Regions from separate parts of the Homo sapiens genome. Here region 2 is linked to region 1. Evidence: promoter capture Hi-C in human tissues and cell types (Jung and others, 2019). All regions are on one chromosome and are shown on one strand. The core of a region is centred on a gene start or on the middle of the fragment in contact, and the rest is flanking DNA. Distances in the headings are between cores, read along the strand shown.

The links. Contacts are between HindIII fragments. The study calls those that stand out against the background at their distance.
Region 2: a fragment that was not itself captured here is called in contact with the fragment with the promoter of NUP210 in region 1 in 1 of the 25 tissues and cell types used here (spleen).

Annotation. Positions count from the first base shown.
Region 1 is chr3:13,417,580-13,422,652 of GRCh38, reverse strand. NUP210 (nucleoporin 210) reads left to right here and starts at 2,331. Exons shown (of 40, transcript NM_024923.4): 1 at 2,331-2,593. The coding sequence starts at 2,427. RefSeq lists silencers at 2,097-2,496, 2,547-3,116. The HindIII fragment of the contact is 28,440 bases long and covers 1-5,073 here.
Region 2 is chr3:13,039,545-13,044,617 of GRCh38, reverse strand. All of the region lies in intron 1 of IQSEC1 (IQ motif and Sec7 domain ArfGEF 1), which reads left to right. Among named protein-coding and RNA genes, the nearest start is that of IQSEC1, 31 kb to the left of the region's middle. RefSeq lists enhancers at 2,280-2,875, 3,716-3,775, 3,796-3,885. The HindIII fragment of the contact is 6,139 bases long and covers 1-5,073 here.

The sequences.
Region 1 (5,073 bases), core at 1,082-3,581:
GCCTTAAATCACCTGAAACGTAGTTGTTTAGCAAGCTGTGTCCACTCAGATGTGTTTTGCTGGGCCTGTTTGTATGATTCTTTTTTTGAGATAATTGTAGATTACATGCAGTTGTAACAAATAACAAGAGAGATGCTATAATATGTGCCCTTTACCCCGTTTCCACTAGTAGACATCTTGCAAAACTATGGGATAATATCACAACCAGGAAATGGACATTGATACAGTCAAGCCACCAAGCACTTCCATCCCAGGGACTCCTCATGTTGACCTTTTATAGCCACATCACTTCCTATGCCACGCCGCCCCTGACCCCACAATCACTCACCTGCTCTATACTTCTATAATTTTGCCAACTCAATAATCTTGTATAAAAGCAAGTTTACAGTATGTAACCTTTTGTGCTTTTGTAGTGTTTGTTTTCCAGTCCGTATAATTCCCTGGAGCTTCATCCAAGATGGATGTATTAGCAGTTCATTTCTTTTTTTGCTGAATAATATTCCATGGCATAGATGTGCCACAGTATTTAATCATCACCCATGAAGGACCTCTGTGCTGTTTCCAGTTTGGGCCTATTTGATAAAGCTGCTATGAATGTTTTATGTACAGGTGATTGTGGGAACATCACTTTTCATTTCTCTAGGATATATGTCCAAGAGTGAGATTTACCTGCCTCGCAAGACATATGTATATGTATGTATATGTGCCATATTTCATATATACATATGTGTGTGCATGTATGTGTATGTGTGTGCATGTGTGCCATGTTTTATATATATATATGCTTGTTTATGCATAAAATTTCTCTGGATGTATACTCAAGTGGGAAACACTCATTGCCTGTAGGGAAGGGTATTGGGTGATGGGGAGGGAGAGGAATCACTTTCACTTGGAACCCTTTTGAGCCTAAGTTTCAACCATCTGTCTGGATTACCTGTTGGAAAACAAATCAATCTTGTGCAACCCAGAAGACACCCACAGACTTCCTCACAAATACCCTCTGAGGCTGCCTTTTCCGCGCAAGTCTGTTTTTTGTTTCTTCAAAGGGAGCCCGTTGGAATTCCCCTCCCAGAGCACCTGGTTCCACACAGGGCCGACCCTCACCCCCTTAGTTCTGGTTATCTCCAGAGATTTCCCCCAACACACACATTCCCTGGTCTAGGGCCCTCAGGCTTCGAGGGTGACCCCAAACACCCCGCATCACCATCCAAAAGCCCCATGATCCCTGAGGGGCAGGCTCAGCCTATGCGGGCCTCGCTGAAGCCCAGTGCGGTGTCTATGCCCAACCCAGGGGCCGCCGCCTCCAAAAAGCCTTCCTAGCCTTACTGACATTTATCCTCTCCTTCCTGGTCACCCAGTGGCATCGTTGTGTGTCTTCCTGGTTACAGTCAGCATCCACTTCCTGCACTCCTCAGACAGCCGGCCAGTGCACCCTCACCCCACCCTTTCCTGACCTCCCGCTAGGCTGGGCCTTCTCTGCAAGGCTAGATTCATATTTTAGCGGCACCAAGCAGTCAGGTGCCTGCTGACGCATGCCTTCATGCAATTCACGACAGACAGCTAAAAGCCACAGAGCACAGCGCGGAATCTAAGGCCTTCCATTGGTGTGCAGGTGGATTCCGCGGTGCTAAACTTTCTTTTGTGGGTGTGGGGGCCGTGGAGGGGGTTGTGCTCTGGCAGCGTTGGCGCCCTAAATGACCTATAGGTAACCTCTAATGGCTTCCGCAGGGGGTGCAGTGCGGAGGACAAGAGCTTGGGGCTCTCTGGCTGAGTGATCTGGGGGCCATTCAACCGGTTTTTTCCTGGAGAAATGGGAATCTTAAGGCCTCTCTGGAAAGGGTGTGAGGGGGTCGAGGGGGAGCGGGCCCCGGGCCTTCAGCGCTTCAGCAGGTGGCTTCCCTTTGCGAGCCCGGGGTCCCTCTTCTGGGAAGCATGGGCTGGGACAAGGCAGGCGCCGGTTTTCTGCATCCCAAATGTCCTGGGGCATGTGTCCCTTCCTTGCTGACCGTGGGTCCGGGCCAGAGCGCAAGGTCCAAAGCCGGCGGCTTGGCTCCACCGCCAGGGGCAAATACCAGGGCGGGATGCGTGCTGCGGGGCGCCCCGGGGGCTCCCCCTTGGGACTTCTAGGGTCCAGGGGTCCCCGCGGGCGCGCCCCAAGCCTTCTCCCTCAGCTCCGGGGGCCCGGGCGCGCGCCCATCCCCCAGCCCCGCGTCCCTGCGCGAGGGCCGGGCTGGGGGTGGGGTCGCCGCGAGCTCGGCCCCCAGAGTTCCCGCGCTCAGGCCCAGGAAGCGGCGGCCGCCGACGGCCCTCGCCCCGCCCCCGCGCTCATCACCTGCTGGCCTGGCGCGCGCGCGGGCGGGAGCGGAGGGCAACGGGGCGGCGCGGGCGGCCGGGCGCAGGGTCGCGGGAGGTGACGCGCGGCGAGGATGGCGGCGCGGGGCCGGGGGCTGCTGCTGCTGACGCTGTCGGTGCTGTTGGCGGCGGGCCCCTCCGCCGCTGCGGCCAAGCTCAACATCCCCAAAGTGCTGCTGCCCTTCACGCGGGCCACGCGCGTTAACTTCACGCTGGAGGCCTCGGAGGGCTGCTACCGCTGGTGAGGCGCGCGGCCGGGCCGGGCGGGCGCCGTGGGCCGGGCTGGGCCTTCGCGCTGAGAGGCTGGGCGGGCGCCGGGAGGCCGGCAGAGCCGGCAGGTGCGCGGCGCGCTCTCGCTGGGCGCTAGGCTGCAGCACTCGGAGCGGCGGGTGCGCGTGGGTCGCCACCACTGCTCATGTCATGGCGCCGTCCGGGCCTCCGCGCCGCTGAGGCGCGAGCAGAGCGGGCGCAGCCTGGCGGCCGTGACCCGCGTGTTCTGGGTTGTGCGGGAGGAGGGGTGGCCTGGGGAGCGGCGTCTGGGACCGCAGGGCCCAAGCCGGCCGGGCCCGAGCCGGCCTGACCCGGGAGGGGGCGCCGGGGCAGCTGGGCCGCACTTCCCTTGAGTCTGGGACCCCAGCTCGGGTTTGTCTGTGACCGCCCTCGCCCTGGCGTGGGAAGTGAGTCTGTGAAACGAAGCGCAGCGCCTAGCGTCGCGGGGAGGAACGGAGACCCTGGAGGAAAGGAGTTTTGGAGGGAAGCCCAGGGGCCGCTTTACAGAGGCGAAGTGAGACGAGGCAGGCCGGCGCTTCCCCTCAGGCTGCCTCGGCGCGGGTCCTGATGCTCAGGGCATTTCCATCACCCTCCCTCTCGGGTTGGGAGTTCTCCAAGGGGTCGGATGCGGAGTGTGACCCTGTGGAACCACAGGGACCCATGAAACCAGAGACCGACACTGACAGGGCGGTGCAGTCCAGCCCTTCCATTTTGCAGACCAGGGGAAATGGAGCTCCTGCCCCTGGCAAGGCTGCGTGGGCACGACTGAGCGCCCTTAGCTTCCCAGCCCAGCCGTCCTAGGGGTGAAAAGATGGGCTTCCGCCCTTCCCACCCCCAGGATGCTCAGTAGTTGCTCCCTTTATTTCTGTTTCAAGACTGGGTCAAGGTTGAGGCAGAACGGGGTGTGACCACGTGACAGCCATGTGTGTAAGCCTGGACATGTGTGTGTCAAGCCTGTTTGAGTATTAGTCTGTGCGTGTATGTAAGTGTGATGCCCGAAGCTCAGACCAGCCAGCTTTCTCTGTTGCTTGCACTATTTGCCCTATTTCTTTCTTTCTTTTTTTTTTTTTTTTTTTTTTTTTGAGACGGAGTTTTGCTTTGTCGTCCATGCTGACGTGCAGTGGTGCGATTTCGGCTCACTGCAACCTCCACCTCCCGGGTTCAAGCGATTCTCCCGCCTCGTAGCTGGGATTACAGGTGCAGGCCACCTGGCTAATTTTGTTTGTTTGTTTGTTTGTTTTTAGAGTGCACTCCAGCCCTTGTTGCCCAGGCTGGAGTGCAATGGCGCGATCTCTGTCCACTGCAACTTCCGCCTCCCCGGTTCAAGCGATTCTCCTGCCTCAGCCTCCCGAGTAGCTGGGATTACAGGCGCCCGCCACAACACCCAGCTAGTTTTTTGCATTTTAGTAGAGACGGGGTTTCACTATGTTGGCCAGGCTGGTCTCAAACTCTGGATTCACTGTGTTGGCCAGGCTGGTCTTGAACTCCTCAAGACCAAGGAGAACTCCTCAAGCGATCCACCTGCCTCAGCTTCCCAAAATGCTGAGATTACAGGCGTGAGCCACCATGCCTGGCTTGTCTGGCCAATTTTTGTATTTTTAGTAAAGATGGGGTTTCACTATGTTGGTCAGGCTGGTCTCGAACTCCTGACCTCAAGTGATCCCGCCGCCTCTGCCTCCCAAAGTGCTGGGATTACAGGCGTGAGCCACTGCACCCGGCCTGCCCTATTTCTTTTTTGAAGGTCTCCTTCCTGAAATCAAGACGTACTAGGTCAGCCCATTGCATTTTGGTTTTAGTGCTTTATGCACCTGGAGGCTCCTATTTCTGGCCTGATGCCAGAGGCTGAACTTGGGCATTAGGTTTTCTGTATCCCAGTCTAAGGCCTAGTCTTGTGTGGGAAAATCAGCTGTTAGTCAATACTGTGGCGGGGATACATGCTCATTCTCTTGTTGAAGCTGTCTGTCCTCTCAGTATGTGGGCAAGAAAGAGGAAACTGGTTATTAAAAACAGCTGGCTTCAAGTGAATCCCTTTGGATATATTTGTGTGTTACTTTCTCTGAGATTCTATAGCTGTACTTTTTTCTTTTTCTAAACTAACAACACTTTTTTCCCCCCCAACATCATTTTCTTTTCTGAGAGGAGCTGAAGGGTGTTGGTGGATTTTAATTTACTTGGTAGGAAAAAGGGAAAAAACATTCTTAATCTCTGATGCATCAGAGAAGTGCTAAGTACCTTATAACGTGTTTGGCGTTGATCTGTAGTTTGTATTGCAGATGTGTGACTGCAGATGTGTGACTGCTATTCAAAGTGTCTTCTCAGAGGTGTTTGGAAATTGTGATTCCCCCTTAACTTGACAGGAAGACATTCTGTCAATCAAGCATTGAGAATATTTTCTTTATTTTTAGTATTGCTGTTCCTAGTGTAGTCGTCTATTGCTGCAGTTTTGAAGAA
Region 2 (5,073 bases), core at 1,785-4,284, 380 kb after region 1:
CTCGGCAGATCGCCTCTCCCCTGCCTGCCCCCAGTTATCAGCCCAAGTTGGGGTGTCTTGCGTCCAGCCTGGGTCCATTCCGATGACACTGGGTGTCCCCCTTTACCTCTGGCCTCGCACTCCCCGACTGTATTATAAGAGGCTTGGACCCAGCCATTTGGAAAGCTTTCCCTTTCCAGCCATCCAGGACGGGTACCTCCAAGGGAAAGTGACTACAGACAGGGTCTCCCAACCTTGGCACTACTGACATTTTGGGCAGGACCATTCTCTGGTGTGGGGGCTGTCCTGTGCATGGTAAGGTGTTTAGTGACATCTAAATGCCACTGGATGCTGGCACTCTCTCCCCATTTGTGACAACCAAAATTTCTCCAGATATTACCAGATGTCCCTGGGGGTGGGGGGATGACCCAGACGCCTCTGGTTGAGAACCATTGCTCTAGAAGCAGCATTTTTGCTAATGACACTGAGAAAATGCCACCTGAGGTGGGAGACTTTGTTCTTTGGCTTTGCATGGGGTGAGATCAGGCCTCTGGTTCCCAGCCTGGCCCTTGGAAGCTGAGCAGCCTTGCTAGAGGCACACAGAGCCTTGTCTTTTTTGTGGCACCAGCTCCCATCCGACCGCCTGGATGTCACCCCCCTGAGCAGCAGCTCCTGGACTCTGTGTGCACACCTCTGGGGATGGGGTCTTCTCTGTGCCTCTGTTTCCTCATCTGAGGGGGAGTGGGGAGGTAGCAAGACCTCCTCGTCTGAATGGAGTGTGACCACTGCTTTGCAAACGATGTCGGGTTGTGCAAACCTGGGCCCCAAAGCGGCCAGAGGGGGTGAGTGTGGTGCCTCTGAGAGCCTTTCACACACTATACAAGATCCTTCCTTCCTTCCACAAATGATTATCGAGGCTCCTCCAGTGGGCCGGCCCTTAAAAGAGATGTGGCCCCTGCCCTGGAGTCGTTGCTTGTAGTCAGGAGAAAGACAGTTAACAAGTAAACATGCAAAAGCAGGATCCTTTCAGAGGATGGGATGTCCCATGGAAAGAATCAGACAGGGTAGTGGCTGAAGGGGGCTGAGCTGCTATAGCTTAGACACGAGGGGTGCTGGAGTGGGACCTGACTGACGAGGAGGAGCGGAGCTGCAGGAAGTGCACCCGAGAGCAGACTGCATGGAACCAAAGGGTGTGCCGGATTCATGGGGGTGAGGGTGGCTACTGTATCTGGGACCCAGAGCCTCAGACTTTCAGGTGGCTAGTGTGTGGGAAATGGGCCATGGGAGGGTTGGAGCAGACGCCGGGACCAGCCAGATCCCAGGAGATACAAGGGGAGAGGTGAGGGTGGGCCAGGGACTCCTTTCCTATTGTCTGTGACTGCCAGGTCCCCTGGCCTGTGGGGCCACCCATTCTGCCTGGGGTCCCTCTGCCCAACAATGCGCCTGGTTGTCTGTGGCCCTGCAGCTCAGCCGCTCCCCTCCCTGGTTAGCGACAGGATTCCCCTGCCGGCAGCCAATGAGCGGCTGTCATAGCGGTTCCATTTTAGATTTTATCAATGTGTCCCCGTCGCCCAGGCAACGGCAGGCGCTGGGCGACCCTGTCAGTCTTCCTTCGCCTGCCTTTCAGAGCCCAGCTGCCCCCACCCCAAGCACCATGTGGCTACATGGTGAGTTTTCCCTCGCACAGGCCGAACAGGGATTCCGCCAAACGTAATTTATCTGGCAAAAGAGGCCAGTGTTTGCCTGTCATCTGGCCCCCTCCCTACCTGCTCTCCCTGGGTCTTCCTGGCCTCAGCCACTCTGGGCCAGCCAGGCGGGTGTAGGACTGTCCAGCCAGTGCCGGCCCCACCACCCGGAGCCCCAGGGCCTGGTTGGAAGAACAGACTTGCAGAGCCACCGTCAGGAGCCCTAGCATCCAGACCCCCCAGGATGATGGACTGGGGGCCCCCACAACTTGATACAGCCAGAGCTGCCTTGGTGTGTCCCAGGGACCCCCAGGGAAGCCCTCGGAGGCACCAGCTAACAGAGACAGCAGCAGCATGAGCCGGGCCAGGCGAGCTGCGTGAATGAGTTGCTAGGCTTTTGTGCTGGCTGCTCTTTGTATTGGAGGCGTGTACTGTACAAGCTGCGCCGGGCGGGCTGGGCCATGTGAGTGGGGGCCGCCGTGGCAGGGACCAGGGCGGGCCGAAGCAGCCGGTTCTCCACCTCCCACTAGCCCCTCTCCGTGTCTCCGCGGAGACGTTACCGTGGTCCAGCTGGAGACCAAAAGGTGAAAATGCTCAAGTTCAAGGCCTTTTGCCTGGATTACTGGCAGTTCCTGTGCCTACAGCCCCTGCATGGAGCCTACAAAAGGTAAGTCGACCCTCTGGGGAGAGCCTTGGCCACTAGGGCAATGGGACCTGGAGAGAAAGTTCGCCCTGATCCTGCCCGATTGCAGGGCTTCCTCCTCTTGGCGGAGGGTCCCCGTCACTGGCCAAGACCAGCAGCAGCGTTTGTCGTGGTTCACTTTGCAACTGGGCTTAACTATTCTTTCCTCTCCCTCTGGCCTGAAACTGGTAGAGTTTCTGCAGAGAAAGAGTCACCCTGGACTGCTCTGTGGCCAGGCACTGTGTTTCATTGTTCCTTGCTGCCGGGGTGAGCCCTAGGCAGGGAAGCTGCACCGGCCCGGGGTCCCCGGCCTGCTCTTTCCCGGTACACTTGCTCCGACCTCGTGGGCTGGATGACTCAAGGGTTGGCCTGCCTCCTCCCTAAGCACAAGTTTGGGGAGGCAGAGTTGGGGGTCCCCTGGTCAGGAGATCAGGAGCCCGAAGTTCAGTCCCTTTCCTGGCTGCGCGATCTTGGGCGAGTCACTTTCCCTCTTTAAGCCTGTTTCCCAACTGTAGGGATTCGGATTTGATGACATGGATTTGGGGACTGCTCCCTGAGGTGACAGGGGCTGCAGGCACCACAAGCCCGAATGTTCATACCTCCGGCAGGTTCTTCCGAGCGTGTGTGTTCTGTCCAGTGCACACCTTGGTCAAGAAAGAACCACATCCGGGCCAGCAGGAGATCATCATGGAGCCGTCGCCATGGTCACCTTGAACGGCGTGTTATTAAAGACCTGGAGGAGGGAATTGTCCCGTCTATTCTGAGGGAATTAGTTTTTCCTGATTTCACACTCTGTGAAGTCTGCGGCCATTAGCATACGAGCAATTCTGGGAAAGTGTGGGAGCTTTTCTTCTTCCTTCCAGTGGGCTTTCTCCAAAGGGGGCGGGCACGGAGGGTCTCACGGCAGCTGTAGAAAGGAAGTCCCTGCTCTTGGGAGGGTGCCAGCGAGAGAGGCCTGTCCTGCGTCTGATTAGTGCAAGCCACATCAGAGAGGAGCCCGACACCCAGTGGGCCCTGAGCGCTGTGGTGCAGCCTTTCACCCCACCCCCCGCCCCCAGGCTTGTTCATGCGGCCTCAGGAGGGCATGTCCGGCTGTCAGTGATTCGGTGTCTACCGCGGTGGGGCACTTTATATACTTAATTGTTCATCCTCATCCCTCCTGCAAAAGAAGCATTAAAGCCCCTGTGCGCAGGTGAGCAGAATAAAACCAGAGGGCAGGCAACTGCAGAAGAGTGGCCACGAGATCTGACCCCTGTCTTTCCTGTCTCGAGATGCAATCTCTCTTGAATGTCTACAGTCTCAGTCCATGCAGACGCCGGAGTCCTGGGCCAGGCAGGGACAAATGAGGGACAGACCCTGCTCCACAGGGCTCAGCTAGCCAGGCATGAGTCGCGGTCAGAGTCTTGAAAGAGGAGCAGGGCTGGGTGCGGGGGCTTCATGGAGGAGGTGACAGCTGAGCCAGGTGGTAAAGTGTCTGGAGGAGTTTGCTGGGTTGAGATGGGGAGCACAGGTGTTCCAGACAGAGGGGAAACCACATGGGAAAAACCCAGAGGCTTTAAAAGGGAAGGGTGTCTTTGGGTCATGGCAAAAGGCCATGGAGCTGGGAAGGGGTACCAGGGGCTGGGGCTCAGGACCGGAGCCTGGGCCTTGTCCTGCATTCAGTGGGGAGCCCATGAAGGATCTTAGTGGGCAAGTGGCAAACTGAGAGTCACACTCTGGGGGCCACGTGGTCCAAGTGTGAGAGGCGTGGCTCAGGCTCTAGGAGGAACCCGTGAGAGCGCTCTTTGTCCCCTCCCCTGACCTATGGAGGTTCTTACTCAGAGCCTGTGCTCTTGTTCTTAAGCCCTGACTGTGCCTGAAAGACAAATGAGACTAATCCTTGAGGAACTCCCAACCTACAAAGGGAAAAGACCTATTAACAACTCATGAATGTTAAGAATGGGGTATAAACAGAGGGTGCACAAATTACCAGCAGCCTGAGGGAGGTCTTATTGGAAGGCTTCCTGCAGGAGGTGGCATCTGATCCGGGCCTAGACATGGGAGTTGGAATTTTCCAGACAGGGAAGGGCACTGTGGGTGGAAAACAAAGCACGAACAAACGTATGGTGTGGGACCAAGCCTCACATGGTGCATAAATGATCAGAGGTGAGGCTGAAGCCTAGGTGTGTGTCAGGGGAAGAGCTAGAAAGGAAGGTGGGGCAGGGAAGCTCAGTGAGTGTCTGCTACATGTGAGGCTTCATTCTGAGCACCAACTCTGCGCGCTAATGCCACGAAGTGGAGTCATGATTCTTCCATTTTCCAGGTGAAGAAACCAAAGCACGGGGAGAAGTAGCTTGTCCAAGGGCTCATGGCCAGTCGGTGGTGCCACTGGGATTTAACCAGGGGATCCAGCTGTGGAGGCTGCATGCTGCCAGCTGAGCAGCTCGGTCTGTCCACCCTGGCAAATGACATGCTGAGGGCTGGGGGCAGTCATCTTTCCAGCAGTTGTCGACCAGAAATAATGATAATGCATCAGCCAGGTGGGCAAGAACTCAGACTTTGTGGTCAGACCTCGCTGTGGCAGGGAGCTTAGAAAAGTCACTTTTCCTCCACAGCTGTGTAACATGGGGAAAGGGGGATGCTCAGCTCACCTCTCATGGCCCTTGTGTGGGGATTTCAAGGGTAAATGCTGGAAAAGCACTGAATATACAGCACTTAGTAGAGGCTTTGCAAGCGGCTGTCCTCACC